Regions from separate parts of the Homo sapiens genome. Here region 1 is linked to region 2. The links are contacts of gene promoters, found by promoter capture Hi-C in human tissues and cell types (Jung and others, 2019). All regions are on one chromosome and are shown on one strand. The core of a region is centred on a gene start or on the middle of the fragment in contact, and the rest is flanking DNA. Distances in the headings are between cores, read along the strand shown.

Region 1 (2,714 bases), core at 110-2,609, 590 kb after region 2:
CCTCCCTTTTTAAGGTTACATAATATTCTGTTGTATGTATATGCCACATTTTATTTTTTTGATATATCTATCAATGGTCATTTGAGTTGCTTCCACCTATGACTGTTTTAAATAATGCTGCTATGAATATGAGTATGCAAAATGTCTTCCCTGCTTTTAGTATTTTTTGGGTATATAATCAGAAGGGGAATTGTGGGATCATATAGTAATTATATACTTAATTTTTTGAGAAACTGCTGTACTGTTTATCTTAGCAGCTGCAGCATTTTATGTTCCCACCAGCTGTGCACAGGGATTCCAATTTCTCCACATCCTCATCAACACTTATTATTTTCTGTTTTTTGTTTTCTGATAGTAGCCATTCTAATGGCTGTGAGATAATAACTCACAGTGGTTTGGGTTCACATTTCCCTCATGAATAATGATGATGAGCATATTTCATGTGCTTTTTGACCATTTGTATAACTTCTTTAGAGATGATCCTTTTCCCATTTTTTAAATCAGGGTTTTTTTTATTGAGTCATAGGAGGTCTTTACATATTCTGGATATTGACCCCTTATTAAATATATGATTTTCAAATATTTTCTCCCATTCCGTGGCCTGCCTTTTCACTGTTGTTTCCTTTGATTATACACATTTTTCATTTTGATGTTTTGAATTTATTTTCTTGGTTATTGCCTTTGCTTTTGGTGTCATATCCAAAAAGTCATTGACAAATCCAATGTCATGAAGCTTTTCCTATACCATTTTATATTTTAGGTCTTTCATTTAGGTTTTTGATCTATTTTGAGTTAATTTTTGCATATGGTGTAAGGTAACGATTTACCTTGAATTTTTTGCATGTGGATATCCAGTTTCCCCAGCACCGTTTGTTGAAAAGACTATTATTTCCTCATTGAATGGTCTTAGCACCCTTATTGAAAATCATCTTATCATACATGTGAGGGCTTATTTCTGGTCTCTCTCTATATTCCATTGGTCTGTACATCTGTATTTTTGCCAGAACCACATTGTTTTGATTACTGTGTCTTTGTAATCAGTTTTGAAATTGGCAAGTGTAACACTTCCAAGTTTGTTATTTTTTAAAATTGTTTTGGATCTTCAAGGTCCCTTGAGATTTCATATAAACTTCAAAATGGAGTTTTCTGTTTCTGCAAAAAAATACTATTGGGGATTTGATAGGGATTGCATTAGATCTGTACATCACTTTGGATAGTATTGACATCTTAACACTATATCTTTCATCCATGAACATGGGATGTCTTTCCATTTATTTGTATCTTCTTTAATGTTTTTAGCAATAATTTTTTAAAATTTTTCAGCGTACAAGTGTTTTCCCTCCCTATTTAAGTTTATTCCTAAGTATTTGATTTCTTTCATTTCTGCTATTGTAAATGGAATCATTTTCTTAATTTATTTCCTGGCTTAGTCGTTGTTAGTGTATAGAAACACAACTGATTTTTGTGTGTTGTTTTTTCATCCTGCAACTGTGCTGAATGTATTCATTAGTTCTAACAGACTCTGTGTGTGTGGTGGGGGGCGGGGTGGGGGGAGGTCTTCGGGGCTTTCTACACACAAAATTATGTCATTGTAAACAGATATCATTTTACTTCTTCTTTTACAACTTTGACGCCTTTTATTTGTTATTCTTGCCTAATACTTCTGGCTAGAACTTCTATGTTTTGTTACACAGAAGTGGCAAAAGCAGCCTGGTTGTCTTGTTCCTGATCTTAGAGGAAAAACTTTCAGACATTTACCATTGAGTATGATGTTCGTTGTGGGCTTTTCATATATGAGCTTTATTTTGCTGGGTAATTTCCTTTTCTTTCTAGTTTATAAAGTGTTTTTCTCCAGTAGTTTTGTTTATTTACTTTACAGTTTATTATATGTCTCCTAAGTGTCTATAATCTATAGATTCTCACTCAATCCCTTTTTATAAACCTTGTGTATTTCTGTTGAAGTAACCAGACTGTCTGTCCTACAGAGTTCCTGGGAGTCTGGGTTTTCTTGACAGCAACCCTATTGTATTATTTAACATGTTTCTTTGTCCTCTGTATTTCCTACAATCTGATAGCTAGATCTAGGAGCTTGCTTAGTTAGATTCAGTTTCCTTTTCTTTTTTTTTTTTTTTTTTTTTTTTTGGCCAAGACTTTATAGATGGGGTATATCCTTGAGCATCTAGTTGTTGTTTTTAAAACTTCAGTACTCCAGTTGGAGAAGCTCCTTCAGCAGTCCATTACAGAATGTTTTTACTTATGCTGTACATTCTTTCGTTTTAGCTCTAAGGAGGTTGACTAAGAAGAAGAAAACTCAAGAGTTTGGAAGTTTTATGAACCACAGATTCTTAATTGATCTGAATCAAATATCTGTAGCCTTGCTGCCAGAAAAAAAGACTGACAGTTCCTGTTGCAGATAATTAGCTCAGAGCTATTTTTGCTGAGGTGAAGTTTTGAGATGAAACTAAACCACTTGCTGAATTTTGATATTTTCTCAAGTATCAACTCTTCTTGAATAGCTCTACAGTATTATTGCATATTTTTGATTAAGGCTTCCTCGTTACCTTTAGTGGACAAGTAGGTGTCTTGAGTGACTCATGCTGAGTCACCTGGCAGGTGCCACATTCCTTTGTTATCTTTTCAATAGTGTGGTGAAGTTCAATTTACCACCCTTAGTTTCAAGTGAGAGAACTAACTGATAGGATCAGTGAATTAAC
Region 2 (2,805 bases), core at 126-2,625:
CTGGACTGACTCCACATAGGTCCCCTTGCACCTTGCTCAGCTTGGGAGCCTGTGGACTTTCAGGAAAAGAACAAGTGAACACCTAAGCCTGTGTGACGACTCAGTTTCATCATTGTAAAATGGGGTAACCATATGCCAAACTCATACGGGTTTTATTACTCAGTGAGCTGCTCACAAGCCGCGAGTACAGTGACGGGCACACAGCGGGCACTCAGTCTCTGACCACTGGGGCCCGTATCCACAGACGTACTTATCCCCTGACCAGGAACTGCGATGACCTTCGAGTTAGGAAATAATGAGACTGCAAAATTGTTGTGTTTTCTTGTGTGGAAGAGCAGGATGTTTTAGTCTTGTTTGGAATGGAACATGATCATTCAGGGTGCTCCTTTGTCGTTTTTACTTTGAATGGACGATTGTGCTAACTTAGCATTCTGCTTCCAGGAGCTCGCTCTTCAATACACAATCTATTAAATACAATAGCAAGGATTCCCTACATTATAATGCAAAGCTTTAGGGCCGGATCCTCCAACACACGCATTGTGGTATTAAAACAAAATCACATCACGCATGGAACTCTCAAGATAGTGGAAAATACCAGCTACAACATCCAGTGATGTGTGACCCGGAGGCACGGAGCTGACTAGAATACCGACGGGCCAGAATTTCAAAACGCGGATTTTGAATCTTTTTTTCTACTTAGCCTAATAAGTTTGGGTCTTTTACTTAACGTCTATCTAGGCGGCTCAGCTTCAAGTTCTGCAAATTGGAGATAATATCATTAAGTTACAGATGTTATTTGAAAAGGCAACGAACCATTGTAACCATTTTTGTAAACCATGAAGGTATATTATAAGAAAAGGAGGAGGAAAATGAGAGGTAACTTGTGCATTGTTGGATGTTGTTTGCCTGTTCTGCTTTTTCTCTTGTCCAGCAAGGCTTGGGTAGACAATCATACATCATGAATGGTTAACTTGAAAACTGAGTTCTACTGGAAAGACTGGCAGGCAAGCAGAGGTCGGAATCCCGTCGTTTCTAAGTGTCTGGTAATCTTTGCCACTGCTAAGATTACCTGGGGGTAGAAGCACCGTCGGTAGGAACAAGATGTGCCCCTTCACTCCCCGAAAGCTCACTTATCCTGCGCAGACATGTTGAAGGGCCGTCGGGCTTCAGAGCCCAAATCTCGGCTCTGCAGAGACGTCCCCTTCCCCCGCCTCCACCAACCGCTCTTCGGCATGCAGAAAAGCGGTCCCCACCCCTTCCACGCCCCTGCCCCACCTCTTGGCCCCCTTTACAACCCCCTCTTCTTTGCCCGGGGTGGTTTGTTCCAAGGAGTACAGATAGCCTTTTCAAAAGGCGCAGCTTACCGCGGTGCGCGCGGATTCTGGACTTGGGCGCCAACTCGTAGTCCACGCTCCCCGGGGTCAGCAGAGGGGCGCTCACGCTCTCGCCACCCACCTCGCTTTCTCACCCCGCGCTTCCCGGCCTGGGTTTTTAGTCTTCCTTGGAGCGCTCTCTGGCCTCCGCCTCCGCCAGGGAGCGGAAGGCGGAGACAGCGAGACTGGCCAGGGGGGAGGAAAGAGGACGCGTGTGGGCAAGGGGGACAACGGGATGTCCACGGGCTCGGTGAGTGATCCGGAGGAGATGGAGCTTCGGGGGCTGCAGCGGGAGTACCCGGTCCCCGCCTCCAAGAGGCCGCCCCTCCGCGGCGTAGAGCGCAGCTACGCCTCGCCCAGTGACAACTCGTCGGCAGAGGAGGAGGACCCCGACGGCGAGGAGGAGCGCTGCGCTCTGGGCACAGCCGGCAGCGCGGAAGGCTGCAAGAGGAAGCGGCCCCGTGTGGCTGGGGGCGGCGGCGCAGGTGGTAGCGCGGGCGGTGGTGGCAAGAAGCCCCTCCCGGCCAAGGGCTCAGCCGCAGAGTGCAAGCAGTCGCAGCGGAACGCGGCCAACGCCCGTGAGCGTGCCCGGATGCGCGTGCTGAGCAAAGCCTTCTCCAGGCTCAAGACCAGCCTGCCCTGGGTGCCCCCCGACACTAAGCTCTCCAAGCTGGACACGCTCCGGCTGGCTTCCAGTTACATCGCTCACCTGCGGCAGCTGTTGCAGGAGGACCGCTATGAGAACGGCTACGTGCACCCAGTGAACCTGGTAGGGGCGCGGCGCGCAAGGATTCGGGAGAGCAGCCAGGAGATACCCAGGGCGCTCCTGGGCGCCGGGCAGGGTCAGCCCGTTGGGAAGAATTCGAAAGGGGTGGAGGTTCTGGGACTGGGAACGAGAAGGCCAGTTTAGTTTCTCCCAAATCAAGGGAGTGGCCAGCCATTTCCCTGAAGAAGAATCAACCCTCCGTGTCTGTTTGCATCGTTCTGAACATTGTACCCCAGTGACAGCCATTGACTAATATCCTACTTCCAGGGTAAATCTTGGTTCCATCTCCATCTGCCACCAGGTTGCAGACTGACGGCAAATCTCCCTTGCCCAACTTAATCCAGCTGAGTCGGGCAGGTTTGAATCGGCAAGCCCTTTCTTAAAGGAGGGAAGGCCGAGCTCTATAAAAGAGCATTTGCATTTTTAGAAAAATTGCTTGTGGAAGATAGTAACGTTTCCCCAGATGGGATTTATCTGGAAAGTCCCTCTCTGATCTGCCAGCTCTCCCGGCTTGGGAAAAATCCTGTCCAAGCCCAGTTCCTACTTGGAGCTTGGAGTGGATGACTGTGTGTGTGTGTGTGTGTGTGTGTGTGTGTGCGTGTGTGTGTGTGTGTGTTGGGGAAGGGAACTAAACGACAGAACCTCAAAGTCAGATGAGTTTCACCA

The links. The method cuts DNA at HindIII sites, captures the fragments that hold promoters and counts their contacts. A contact is called where the count stands out against the background at its distance.
Region 1: a contact is called between a fragment that was not itself captured here and the fragment with the promoter of MSC in region 2, in 1 of the 25 tissues and cell types used here (mesendoderm cells).

What each region holds. Positions count from the first base shown.
Region 1 is chr8:71,253,672-71,256,385 of GRCh38, reverse strand. The region is part of intron 11 of EYA1 (EYA transcriptional coactivator and phosphatase 1); the gene reads left to right. Among named protein-coding and RNA genes, the nearest start is that of EYA1, 110 kb to the left of the region's middle. The HindIII fragment of the contact is 6,702 bases long and covers 1-2,714 here.
Region 2 is chr8:71,842,982-71,845,786 of GRCh38, reverse strand. It overlaps MSC (musculin), which reads left to right and starts at 1,375. Exons shown (of 2, transcript NM_005098.4): 1 at 1,375-2,142. The coding sequence starts at 1,609. MSC-AS1 (MSC antisense RNA 1) reads right to left here and starts at 2,664. Exons shown (of 5, transcript NR_033652.1): 1 at 2,083-2,664; 2 at 1,365-1,558. RefSeq lists a silencer at 1,757-2,026. The HindIII fragment of the contact is 6,952 bases long and covers 1-2,805 here.